Regions from separate parts of the Homo sapiens genome. Here region 2 is linked to region 1. Evidence: promoter capture Hi-C in human tissues and cell types (Jung and others, 2019). All regions are on one chromosome and are shown on one strand. The core of a region is centred on a gene start or on the middle of the fragment in contact, and the rest is flanking DNA. Distances in the headings are between cores, read along the strand shown. Region 1 holds the start of ZNF441 (zinc finger protein 441). Region 2 holds the start of SYCE2 (synaptonemal complex central element protein 2).

Evidence for each region. The method cuts DNA at HindIII sites, captures the fragments that hold promoters and counts their contacts. A contact is called where the count stands out against the background at its distance.
Region 2: a contact is called between the fragment with the promoter of SYCE2 here and the fragment with the promoter of ZNF441 in region 1, in 1 of the 25 tissues and cell types used here (stomach).

What each region holds. Positions count from the first base shown.
Region 1 is chr19:11,764,358-11,770,471 of GRCh38, forward strand. ZNF441 (zinc finger protein 441) reads left to right here and starts at 2,643. Exons shown (of 4, transcript NM_152355.3): 1 at 2,643-2,839. The coding sequence starts at 2,837. RefSeq lists an enhancer at 2,804-2,903 and silencers at 2,974-3,113, 3,564-3,673. The HindIII fragment of the contact is 15,674 bases long and covers 1-6,114 here.
Region 2 is chr19:12,915,926-12,922,039 of GRCh38, forward strand. It overlaps SYCE2 (synaptonemal complex central element protein 2), which reads right to left and starts at 3,368. Exons shown (of 6, transcript NM_001105578.2): 1 at 3,318-3,368; 2 at 2,297-2,412. The coding sequence starts at 3,332. MIR5695 (microRNA 5695) reads left to right here and starts at 4,395; the gene lies at 4,395-4,479. RefSeq lists an enhancer at 3,048-3,187. The HindIII fragment of the contact is 14,742 bases long and covers 1-6,114 here.

The DNA of each region.
Region 1 (6,114 bases), core at 1,393-3,892:
GTTTCAATCTTTTGCATATGGCTAGCCAGTTATCCCAGCACCATTGATGAGTCCTTCCCCACTGCTTGTTTTTGTCAGCTTTGTGAAAGATCAGATGGTTGAAGGTGAGCAGCATTATTTCTAGGCTCTCTATTCTGTTCCATTGGTAATGTGTCAGTTTTTGTAAAAATACCTTACTGTAGCCCTGTAGTATATAGTTTGAAGTCTGGTAGCATGATGCCTCCAGCTTTGTTCTTTTTGCTTAGGATTGCCTTGACTATTTGGGACTTTTTAAGTTATTTTTTTCCAAGAACTAAGTCTTGCATTTGCTAATCTTTTGTATGTTTTTTTTTTTTTTTGTATCTCAATTTCCTTCAGTTTAGCTCTGATTTTGGTCATTTTAGCTCTGATTTTGGTCATTTCTTGTCTTCTGCTAGCTTTGGGATTGGTTTGCTCTTGCTTCTCTAGTTCTTCTAGTTGTGATATTGGGTTATTAATTTCAGATCTTTCTTTTTGATTTGGGCAGTTAGTGCTATAAATTTCCATCTTAACACTTCTTTAGCTGTGCCCCAGAGATTCTGGTATGTTGTATCTTTCTTCTCAGTTTCCAAGAATTTCTTGATTTTGGTGTTAATTTCATTATTTACTCAGAAGTCATTCTGAACCAGGTCATTTAATTTTGATATAATTGTATGGTTTGGGGAGATTTTCTTAGTCTTGATTTCTATTTTTATTGCACTGTGGTCTGAGAGTGCAGTTGGTATGATTTTGTTTGCTTGTTTTTTTAATTTGCTGAGGGTTATTTTATGTCTGATTATGTTACTGATTTTAGAGTATGTGCCATGTGGTGAGGAGAAGAATGTATAATCTGTTGGTTTTGGGTGGAAAGTTCTGTAGATGTCATATCCATTTGGTCAGGTGTTGGTGGAAGGCTAAGGAGGAGCAAAGGCAAATGTTACATGGCGGCAGGCAAGAGAGCATGTACAGGGAAACTGCCCTTTATAAAGCCATCAGATTTCATGAGACTTATTCACTATCACGAGAACAGCATGGGAAAACCGCCTCCATGATTCAATTACCTCCCACTGGATCACTCCCATGACATGTGGGGATTATGGGAGCTGCAATTCAAAATGAGATTTGGGTGAGTAAGTCTCATGAGATCCGATGGCTTTATAAAGGGCAGTTCCCCTGCACACGCTCTCTTGCCTGCCGCCATGTAACATTTGCTTTTGCTCCTCCTTTGCCTTCCACCATGATTGTGAGGCCTCCCCAGCCATGCTGAACTGTGAGTCAATTAAACCTCTTTTTCTTCGTATCACCATGGGTGCCAGCTCCCAGTTAATAACGCTTTTTTTTTGTTTGTTTTTAAATAGAGATGGGGGTTTCACCACATTGCCCAGGCCGGTCTTGAGCTCCTGAGCTCAAGCAATCCACCCACCTCAGCCTCCCAAAGTGGTGGGATTGCAGGCATGAGCCACGGTGCCTGGCCTCATAATGCTTTTATATCTGGTATTCTTCATAAAAATATGAAGATGAATGTTTTCAAATTCAAAGTCTAATGTCTCAGCCTTTGATTGAAGCATTTAATTCAATAACATTTATAGGCTTGATGGAAGGAGCATTTCCACGCTGTGTTTAGGAGACAGGAGGGCAAATTGAACTCCCAGAGTTAAATCCATTAGTGCCCCTGACTCATCCCCAGGTTCTGATCCACCCTAGGGCTCCATTTCAGGAATTATCGTCTGGCCTCCAAGCTTTGGAATATGTTTGGCCTCCTGAAAGTGGTTGACTTGTGAACTGTGTGTGGATGCAGCAGGCTGCTTATCTGAGCTAGTTCAAGTTTTTGCTTTATAAAATATTGCCGCCATATAATTCCAGTTTTTCCACACATTTAACAATTTTATTTATTTCTTTTTTCTTTTTTCTTTTTTTTTTTTTTTGAGACGGAGTCTCCCTCTGTCTCGCCCACTCTCTCACTGCAGCCTCTGCCTTCCAGGTTCAAGTGATTCCTCTGTCTCAGCCTCCTGAGTAGCTGGGACTACAGGCGTGCGCCACCACATCCGGCTAATCTTTGTATTTTAGAGACGGGATTTCACCATGTTGGCCAGACTGGTCTCGAATTTCTGACCTCAGGTGATCCACCTGCCTCAGCCTCCCAAAGTGCTGGGATTACAGGTGTGAGCCACCACGCCCGGCTTTGTTGGGGTGTTTTTATATTCTGCACTGAAAATTAGTAGATTGAGACATAAGGTGGGAGAAAGGCTTGGCCTGTGCAGCCAACAGCCTCATCCAAAACTCCTGATTCCTGGAGGACATCAGCCCCTCCCTTCTGCTGCAGTGTGGCCTGGGCTCCCTTCCTGCTCTCAAATCAGGGGATAGCTCCACTGGACAGTGAGTCTGGAATTTCCTGCACAGACTTGTGGGTCCCTGTCCAAGAGGAAAAAGGAGGAAGGTCAGGACATACTGCCTAAATGCAAATGTCCCCTGGGAGGGGGTCAGGTCACAGCGCAGGGAGGAAGCTAGTCCTCTCAAGGCCTGTCTGGAATCTGTTTATCAGGTTCCACTCCGCTGCCCGAGATCGCTTCTTCCGTTACTCAGTGCCCGGGGGAGGGACCTGGCGCACTATCCAATCAGGGCCGCGGGGCGGGGTCGTGAGAACTGTCAATCAGGCGCACTGACCGGAGGAGGGTGCAAGGTTCAAAGAGCCCGCCGAGTCTTCTCCACGCCCCTGCACTGGGCTCCGGGTTCTGTCACTGAGAGACGCCCTGGAACGTCTGTGGCAGCTTCTGTCTCGCTGGGACCCGCACTGACAGCGGGAGGCAGAGGGAGGAACCTGGACGCCGGAAGCCGGGAAATGGTGAGTGTGTGAGGTCTGGTGTCCCGACGCGTGAGAGGAGAGACTGGTTGGAACCGGCCGGAACCGGCTGTGGTGGCACCAGGTCTTCCCCGCCGGCGACACCCTGGCGCAGCTCGGCCCTCGGTTCCCTCGGCCGCACGATGGGGCTGGGGCGGCAGCCGGGACCCCGGGCGTCCTGTCCCGTCCCTGCGCGGCCACTGCGGCCCTGGCCCTGGAGGCCTGTCTGGGCAGCTCCGCGCCCGCAGTCCTGCGTCTCCCCAGATTGTGCGGCTGTAACCGGCACAGGTTCGCGGCCCGAGTCACTGCACCGAGACGCCGAGGGCTGCAGCAGAAACAGTTTAATAGGGGGAGAGGGGAGGACACCCCAGATCCGCCTTCCTGAGAGGTTTGGGGATGGGGTGTTTAGGGGTGTGGACAGGGGCGGCTGGGGCGTGGGGTCGCTGGATGGTGGGGAAGTGAGGGGTGACTCTTGGGACTGGAGGTGAAGAAACCGCATTCTTCTGCTGAGTGGGTTCCCTTGTGGGGTCTTCAGCCTGGTTGGCGCCAGCCTTTCCGCTGGAATTCAGGATCTGAGAAAGAACTCAGGCGACTCTTGAGCAACTCTCAGAGATCTCATCCCCAAGCACAATGGCGAAGCCGGCGGTCAGCATCTGCTGTGGCCTGACTCTTGGGGAGGCGGCCCCGCGAGGCAGCGGGGCTGAGGGCACCTGGTTAATATCTAACTGCAATCTCGCCTCCAGCCTGGCTCGCAGTTCTGTGAACCCGGTGAGGAGGCTGCACGGTGATGACAGGTCACCAGGCAGACTCGTGTGTGGGGTTTGTGTGTGGGAGGAGTTGTGGTCTGTGTGGTCCCCTGTCCCTTCTTTCTTCCCAAGGGTGACCCGTTCGCCTTCGAGTCTTCCAAAGATGTGGGCAGCAGGGTCTCAAGTCCACCACTGTGTTCTCTCATCCTAACTCCTCCTAGGGCCGACAGAAAATCCCTTGGCTTCCAGAGCCTTCCTCAGGCTTTCTCTCCTCAATTCACAGCAACTTTATGAACTCCTTGTCCCCCAGTTTATTTTTCAAACAGAGGCTAGTATTTTAATTGTCATTTTGTTTATACATAGCAATATATGGCTCTTTGTAAAAGGTTTTGTGTTTGTGAACATTTCACATGAGAGGAAGCAGAGAAAAACCACCAGACATTTCGCTGTAAAAAAAATGAATATTAATAAATAAAATCTTTGTTACTGTCCTCCCTTCATCATCCCTAGACAGAGACACCTTTTGAGAATGTCTTTGGATTAAGTTTCCTCTTTGGAAACGTTACAGAGTGATGAGTCCCCAGCCCATCCTCTATGGTTTCCTGGTCCTGGGTTTCAGAGCTGCCTGGGGCCACCCCAAGATGCCCACAGCTGCCAAGTCTCTTGTAGTGTCAAGTGAATATCAGTCCCTTTGTCACTCCTCCCAGAGGACACCCTGAGGTGGAGATGGTGGGACCTTGTAGGGAAGCAGCATGATGCCCTGTAGTGGGAGGAGTCTCCTGGTATACCCTTCCTCAATAAGCTACTTCCTTAGAACACTCAGCTTTTCTTCCCCCATCCCTTCCTTGGGGATATATGGCTGGTCAGCCAATTGGATGGTGGTATTAAGGGGACAGGACTGAAATGATTCTTCCCTTCTGATGTTCTCAGACTAATGAAGGGAGAAAACTATCCCTAAGGACAGGAAAACCAACTCCACTGAGGTGGTGCAAGAACCTGAAAAGCTAACAATGTAGTGTCTCCTGGGATCATGGTTATTGAGCACTTCGGTGAGCAGCATGGTGATGGGGGATGTTCCAGGTGATAGGAGGACCTGACTTGACACACTCTGCACCCATAGGGAGGTGGTGAAAGGAGATGATGGTATAAGGGATGCATATGGATCAACCAAATTGAAGAACTGGGAGAAGATAGAGAACTAGAAACTGTGTCAAGGGTCATAAAACCCCTTTTTTGGTATGGAAAAACGAAACCACACTCAAAATGGAAGCTGAGGTAACAAACTGAGTAAAAATTAATGAAAACTGGAAAGTCTATAGTTAGTTGATCATTGTATATGGAGATGCTGGGCAGAAGATGGATTATTCTCCTGTAGGTAACCATTTGTCTCCATCATTTCTGTTGAAGTGTCCCTCATTTGTATCACTGCCTGGCAATACCTGCTGTGTCATAGGTTCTTGTACCTTAAGTAGATGCTCTTGTTCCAGAATTTGCCATTTTTCATTGGTTTATGTATCCATCAGTCTGCTAATATCATACTCTCCTGATTACTATAGTCTTCAAAGCCTTGATGTGTGGTAGAGAAAGACCCTTCCTAACTTAGTCCTTTGGGTTGCTATAACAAATTTACCATAGACTGCATGCCTTACACAACAGATATTCATTTCTCAAAGCTATAAAGGCTGAGAATTCAGTTTCAAGCAGCAGGTCAGTTGTCTACTAAAGGACTCTTTTTTTTTTTATTTTTTATTTTTGAGATGGAGTCTTGCTCTGTTGCCCAGGCTGGAGAACAGTGGCATGATCTCAGCTCACTGCAACCTCCGCCTCCTGGGTTCAAGTGATTCTCCTGCCTCAGCTTCCCAAGTAGCTGGGACTACAGGCACATGCCACCACCCCAGCTAATTTTTTGTATTTTTAGTAGAGACGGTGTTTCACCATGTTAGCCAAGATGGTCTCGATCTCCTGACCTCATGATCTGCCCACCTCGGCCTCCCAAAGTGCTGGGATTACAGGTGTGAGCCACCGTGCCCAGCCTGGGCCTCTTTCTTGATTTGCAGATGGCATTCTTCCTGTTATGCCCTCACATGGTGGAGATATGTCTGTAATGTCTGTCTAGTTTTGGTGTTAAGGCAGTTGTATTAGTCCATTTTCACACTGCTATAAAGAACTACCAGAAAAGAGGTTTAATTGACTCACAGTTCCTCATGGCTGGGGAGGCCTCAGGAAACTTACAATTGTGGCGGAAGGGGAAGCAGGCACTTCTTACATGGTGGCAGGCAAGACAGCATGTGAAAGAGGAACTGTCAAACACTTATAAAACCGTCAGATTTCATGAGAACCCACTATCACAAGAACAGCGTGGGGGAAACCGCCCCCATGATCCAGTCACCTCCCACAGGTCCTTCCCTTGATACATGGGGATTATGGGGATTACAGTTGAAGATTAGATTTGGGTGGTGACAAAGAGCCAAACCATATTATCAGTGTTGGCCTTACAACATGAATTAGAAAGTGTTCCCTCTGCTTGTATTT
Region 2 (6,114 bases), core at 2,118-4,617, 1.2 Mb after region 1:
CCCACAGGGGAAAGGTCTCCCAGCACCATGATCTCTTCCCTGTTGGTGTTTGGTCAGATGCAAACAGCAGGAGGGTATGAGCATGTCTGTCTGGAGGACAGGAGTGTCCCTGCTGCCAATCACAATACTGCCATATCAGCCTTTTTTTTTTTTTTTTTCCTCGAGACAGGGTCTCACTCTGTCACCCAGGATGGAGTGCAATGGTGCTATCTTGGCTCACTGCAACCTCTGCCTCCCAGGTTCAAGCAATTCTCCTGCCTCAGGCTCCGGAGTAGCTGGGATTAAAGGCATGCGCCACCACGCCTGGCTAATTTTTTGTATTTTTAGTAGAAACAGGGTTTCACTATGTTGGCCAGGCTGGTCTCGAACTCCTGACCTCGTGATCCGCCTGCCTCGGCCTCCCAAAGTCCTAGGATTACAGGTTGAGCCACTGCGCCCGGCCAACATGAGCCTCCTTCTTGCTCTTTTGAGAACACATCAAGCTTATTCCTACCTGAGGGACTTCATACTTGCGGCCCCCTCTGCGTGGAAGGTTTGGGCCCAGAATGCCTCCTGGCTGGCCTCTTCTCATGTGACCTCTTCAGAGTTCTCCAACTGCTCTAAGGTCCCTGTCACTCTACTTGCTCCTTACTATATTTTGTTTCTTCATTCCACTTACTTGCCACCAGTTGAAATCACATTATTCACTTATTTATTTTTGAGACAGGGTCTTGCTCTTCCAGTGCAGTGAAGCAATCACGTCTCACTGCAGCCTCGACCTCCCAGGCTCAAGTGGTCCTCCCACCTCAGCCTTCCAAGTAGCTAGGGCCACAGGTGTGTGCAACCGCACCACACCACGCTCATTTCTTTCTTTCTTTCTTTCTTTTTTTTCAGAGAGATATGTCTCCCTCTGTTGCCCAGGCTGGTCTCAAACTCCTGGGCTCAAGGGATCCTCCTGCCTTGGCCTCCTGAATAGCCAGGACTACATGCATGCACCACCACGCCTGGCTGATTTTTGTGTTTTTAGTAGAGACGGAGTTTCACCATGTGGGCCAGGCTGGTCTCGAAATCCTGACCTCAAGTTATCTGCCAGCGCCAGCCTCCCAAAGTGCTGGGATTACAGGCGTGAGCCACTGCGCCCAGCCTCTACTATATATATACTTTTTTTTTTTTTTTTTGAGACAGAGTCTTGCTCTGTCACCAAGGCTGGAATGCAATGGCACAATCTTGGCTTACTGCAATCTCTGCCTCCCAGGTTAAAGCAATTCTCCTGCCTCAGCCTTCTGAGTAGCTGGGATTACAAGTGTCTGTCACCATGCCTGGCTAATTTTTGTAGACACAGGGTTTCACCATATTGGCCAGGCTAGTCTCAAACTCCTGACCTCATGATCTGCCTGCCTTGGCCTCCCAAAGTGCTGGGATTACAGGCGTAAGCCACCGTGCCCGGCCTACTAAATTTTTCTTTTTTCTTTTTTTTGAGACGGAGTCTCACTCTGTCACCAGGCTGGCATGCAGTGGCATGATCTCGGCTCACTACAACCTCTGCCTCTGGGGTTCAAGCGATTCTCCTGCCTTAGCCTCCCGAGTAGCTGGGACTACAGGCGTGCACCACAACACCCAGCTAACTTCTGTATTTTTAGTAGAGACGGGGTTTCATCATGTTAGCCAGGATGGTCTCCATCTCTTGACCTTTTGATCCACCCCCCTCGGCCTCCCAAAGTGCTAGGATTACAGGCATAAGCCACCATTCCTGGCTTTTTTTTTTTTTTTTTGAGACAGCGTTTCGGTCTTTTTGCCCAGGCTGGAGTGCAATGGCGCCATCTCAGCTCACTGCAACCTCCACCTCCTGGGTTCAAGCGATTCTCCTGCCTCAGCCTCCTGAGTAGCTGGGATTACAGGCATGTGCCACTATGCCCAGCTAATTTTGTATTTTTAGTAGAGACGGGGTTTCTCCATGTTTGTCAGGCTGGTCTCAAACTCCCGACCTTAGGTGATCCACCCGCCTTGGCCTCCCAAAGTGTTGGGATTACAGGTGTGAACCACTGCACCTGGCCAATATTTTTTAATAAATTGGCCCGACATTCTGGCCCGCCTCTAGTCCCAGCCATTTCGGAGGCTGAGGTGGGAGGATCACTTGAGTCTGGGAGGTGGAGGTTGCAGTGAGCCGTGATCATGCCACTGCGTGGTGACAAAGCAAGACGCTGTGTTAGGAGGGAAAAAAAAAGCAGCAGACACTGGCATAGCCTTGTGGAAGAAAAGGGTGAATGAGAGGGACCCAGGGGCCTGTGTAGACCCATAGGGCTGGGATCTTCCTCACCTAGCTGGCCCTCCACCAGCTTCCTCCTCGCAGTTCTCTTCCCACCGCGGATGCTCCTTGCTCTCCCCCAAGGGCTGCGGTTCCTGGTCTTTGCATTTCACATGGGGCACGTCCACCTGCAAGCACAGTCAGGACGGAGGCCAAGGAGGGAGGATGAGGAGTGAACAGATCGCCCTCCTGCCGACCCTTCAACCCTGGTCACCTCGATGTGCTGCTGCGGGACGGTGGGGACCCGCAGGAAAGACGGGCAGGGCTGGGGCAGGTGCCATGAGGGCAGGGGCATGGGGTGAAAGGACACTCTGTCCCTAGGGGACACCAGGACACCAGACCTAGAGGGGCCGGGTGAGGGCAGGGCTGTGGGAATGTAACTGGAGGACCTGGGCTCCTAACTGGTATGTGTGTTGGCTGGAGTCCTTCGAGAAAGGAGAAGAGGTAGGAGAAAAGAGATGAGGCCGGGCGCGGTGGCTCACGCCTGTAATCCCAGCACTTTGGGAGGCGGAGGCGGGCGGATCACGAGGTCAGGAGTGCGAGAACAGCCTGAGCAATATGGTGAAACCCCGTCTCTACTAAAAATACAAAAATTAGCTGACGTGGTGGTGCGTGCCTGTAATCCCAGCTACTCGGGAGGCTGAGGAAGGAGAATCACTTGAACCCGGGAGGCAGAGGTTGCAGTGAGCCGAGATCACGCCACTGCACTCCAGACTGGGCGACAGAGTGATACTTCGTCTCAAAAAAAAAAAAAAAAAGAAATGAAAGAAACGGGTGCGGTGCGTGGGTGTTTGTGCCTTTCTCTACTCCGTTCCGGCCACGCGCCATGTGTGGAAATCAGACCCGTCAGTGCGTCAGTCAGGGCCGGGTTCAGTCAGTCAGGAAATTTGAGGCCAGGCCTGATGAGAGGGAGCCCCAATGGCAAAGGACAAGCGGCCGGGCTCGGGTCCGCTGGAGATGGCTGGGATCGCAGCCGTTCCCTGCCTATCTGTCCGCCCGCCCCACGCGCGAGAAGGAAACAAGCGCCGCGTACTCCCTGTCGCTCCATTCCGTATTTTCCCGCCTTCAAGCTCGCACCCTCTGCGCATGCGCCGACCCCGCCCCTGGCCAGCTGCGCTCCCGCGGACGAGTGTGTTGTGACGCGTGCTCCCGGCCCCGCCCTCTTTGAGAACTTGCGCGGCCAACTGGGCGGGGCCGACCGTTAAGCAGCAGTTTCGCGGTCCGCGGGCTGCGCGCGCAGTCGGCGCCCCTTGGGAGCAGGACGGCGCGCTCTGGGTGCGCTTGTGTGCCCCTGTGAGGCTCCTGGGTTCCACGGGGCGCCCAGGTTATACGGATCTCAGAGTCCTGTATTTATTCGGTGCTTCTAACTTCATCCACTCTGCCTTGGAAAATATACTCCATAACAATTTTTTTTTTTTTTTGAGACAAGATCTTGGTCTGTCGCCCAGGCTGGAGTGCAGTGGTGCGATCACAGCTCACTGTAGCCTCGACCTCCCAGGTTCAAGCGATCCTCCTGCCTCGGCCTCCTGAGTAGCAGTGTCATTCACCAGGCCCTTCTAATTTAAAAATATTTTTCTGGCCGGGCGCGGTGGCTCACGCCTGTAATCCCAGCACTTTGGGAGGCCGAGGCGGGTGGATCACCTGAGGTCATGAGTTCGAGACCAGCCTAGCCAACATGGTGAAACTGTCTCTACTAAAAATACAAAAAATAGCCGGGCGTGGTGGCGGGCGCCTATAGTCCCAGCTACTCGGGAGGCTGGGGCAGGAGAATTGCTTAAACCCAGGACGCAGAGGTTGCAGTGAGCTGAGATCATGCCACTGCACTCCAGCCGGGGTGACAGAGTAAAGCTCCGTCTCAAAAAAAAAAAAAAGATTGTATGTATATATACACACACACACACACACACACACACACATAATTATATTTTTTTTTCCTGTAGAAATGAGATCTCACTGTGCTGAGCCCAGGCTGATCCCCAACTCCTGGGCTCAAGCCGTCCTCCCGTCTTGGTCTCCCAAAGTGCTGTCTCAAAAAAAGAAGAAATTATCTGATCTACCCTATTGACTGTAGGTCATAAGACCCCCGTTTCAAAGAAGTTTCTGCCCCACACAAGGCCTATCTATCTAGATTCTTCTTGGCCTCTCTGAGCATGCATTCCTGAGACTCCAAGAAGAATCTAGACAGATAGGCCTTGCTGGGTTTCCCCACTCAGCCTATTAGTATTAGACGACCCCCCCGGCTTTTTTTTTTTTTTTTTTTTTTTGTCTTGCTCTGTTGTCCAGGCAACACTGGAGTGCAGTGGCAAGATCTCAACTCGCTGCAACCTTGGCCTCCCAGGTTCAAGCGATTCTCAGCCAACCAAGTAGCTGGGATTACAGATGCACCATGCCCAGCTAATTTTTGTATTTTTAGTAGAGATGGGGTTTTTCCATGTTGCTCAGGCTGGTCTCAAACTCCTGGCCTCAAGTGATCCACCCGCCTCAGCCTCCCAAAGTGTCAGGATTACAAGTATGAACCACGACAAACCCTTTTTGTCCAATCAAATTTCTACCTGGGTGTTCAAACTTTGCTGAACCTAAGCATAAGACACTTTTCATTAATCAGGCATGGTGGCGGGCACCTGTAATCCCAGCTGCTTGGGAAGCTGAGGCTGCTGTGAGCCAAGATCGCCCCTACACTCCAGCCCAGGGAACAGAGCCAGACTCCGTCTCAAAACAAAACAAAACAAAAACACAGTTTCCCCTGTATCTCTGGATCTTCATTCTGAAGGCTTGTCAGGTAACACTATGATCAAATACATTCGTATTCCTTTTCTCTTATTAATCTGCCTTTTCTCAGTAATTTTTAGTGAAACTTCAGAGGGCAATAAGGAAGCTTTCTCTTCACCCCTACACAGCCAAAGTTCAGATTTGATGGAAATGGCAAGATTCCAGGGTACTTGTGTTTATTTAGACACATAAATATGTATTTAACGACAGGGTCTCACTCTGTTGCCCAGGCTGGAGTGCAGTGGTGTAATCACGGCTCATTGCAGCCTCGACCTCCCAGGCTCAAGTGATCAACCTCAGTCTCTGGAGTACCTGGGATTACAGGCATGAGCCACTATGCTGAGCTAATTTTTGTTTTCTGTTTTTGGGGGACAGGTCTCACTCTGTGGCCCAGACTGGAGTGCAGTGGTGTGATCTCAGCTCCCTACAACCTCCACCTCCTGGGTTCAAGTGATTCTCCCACCTCAGCCTCCCAGATAGCTGGGACTACAGGTGCCTGCCATCATGCCTGCTAATTTTTGTTTTTTGTTTTTTTTTTTGGAACAGAGTCTTCTTCTGTCACCCAGGCTGTAGTGCAGTGGCACAATCTTGGCTCACTGCAACCTCCACCTCCTGGTTCAAACGATTCTCGTGCCTCAGCCTCCCGGGTAGCTGGGACTACAGGTGCTCACCACCACGCCCAGCTTTTTTTTTGTATTTTTAGTAGAGACGGGTTTTCACCACGTTGGCCAGGCTGCTCTCGAACTCCTGACCTCAAGTGATCTGCCTGCCTCAGCTTCCCAAAGTGTTGGAATTACAGGCGTGAGCCACCACGCCCAGCCTAATTTTTTTTTTTTTTTTTTTGAGACGGAGTCTTGCTCTATTGCCCAGGCTGGAGTGCAGTGGTGCGATCTCCGCTCACTGCAAGCTCCGCCTCCCAGGTTCACACCATTCTCCTGCCTCAGCCTCCTGAGTAGCTGGGACTACAGGCACCCGCCACCACGCCCGGCTAATTTTTTGTATTTTTAGTAGACAGGGTTTCACCATGTTGGCCAGGATGGTCTCAATCTCTTGACCTCATG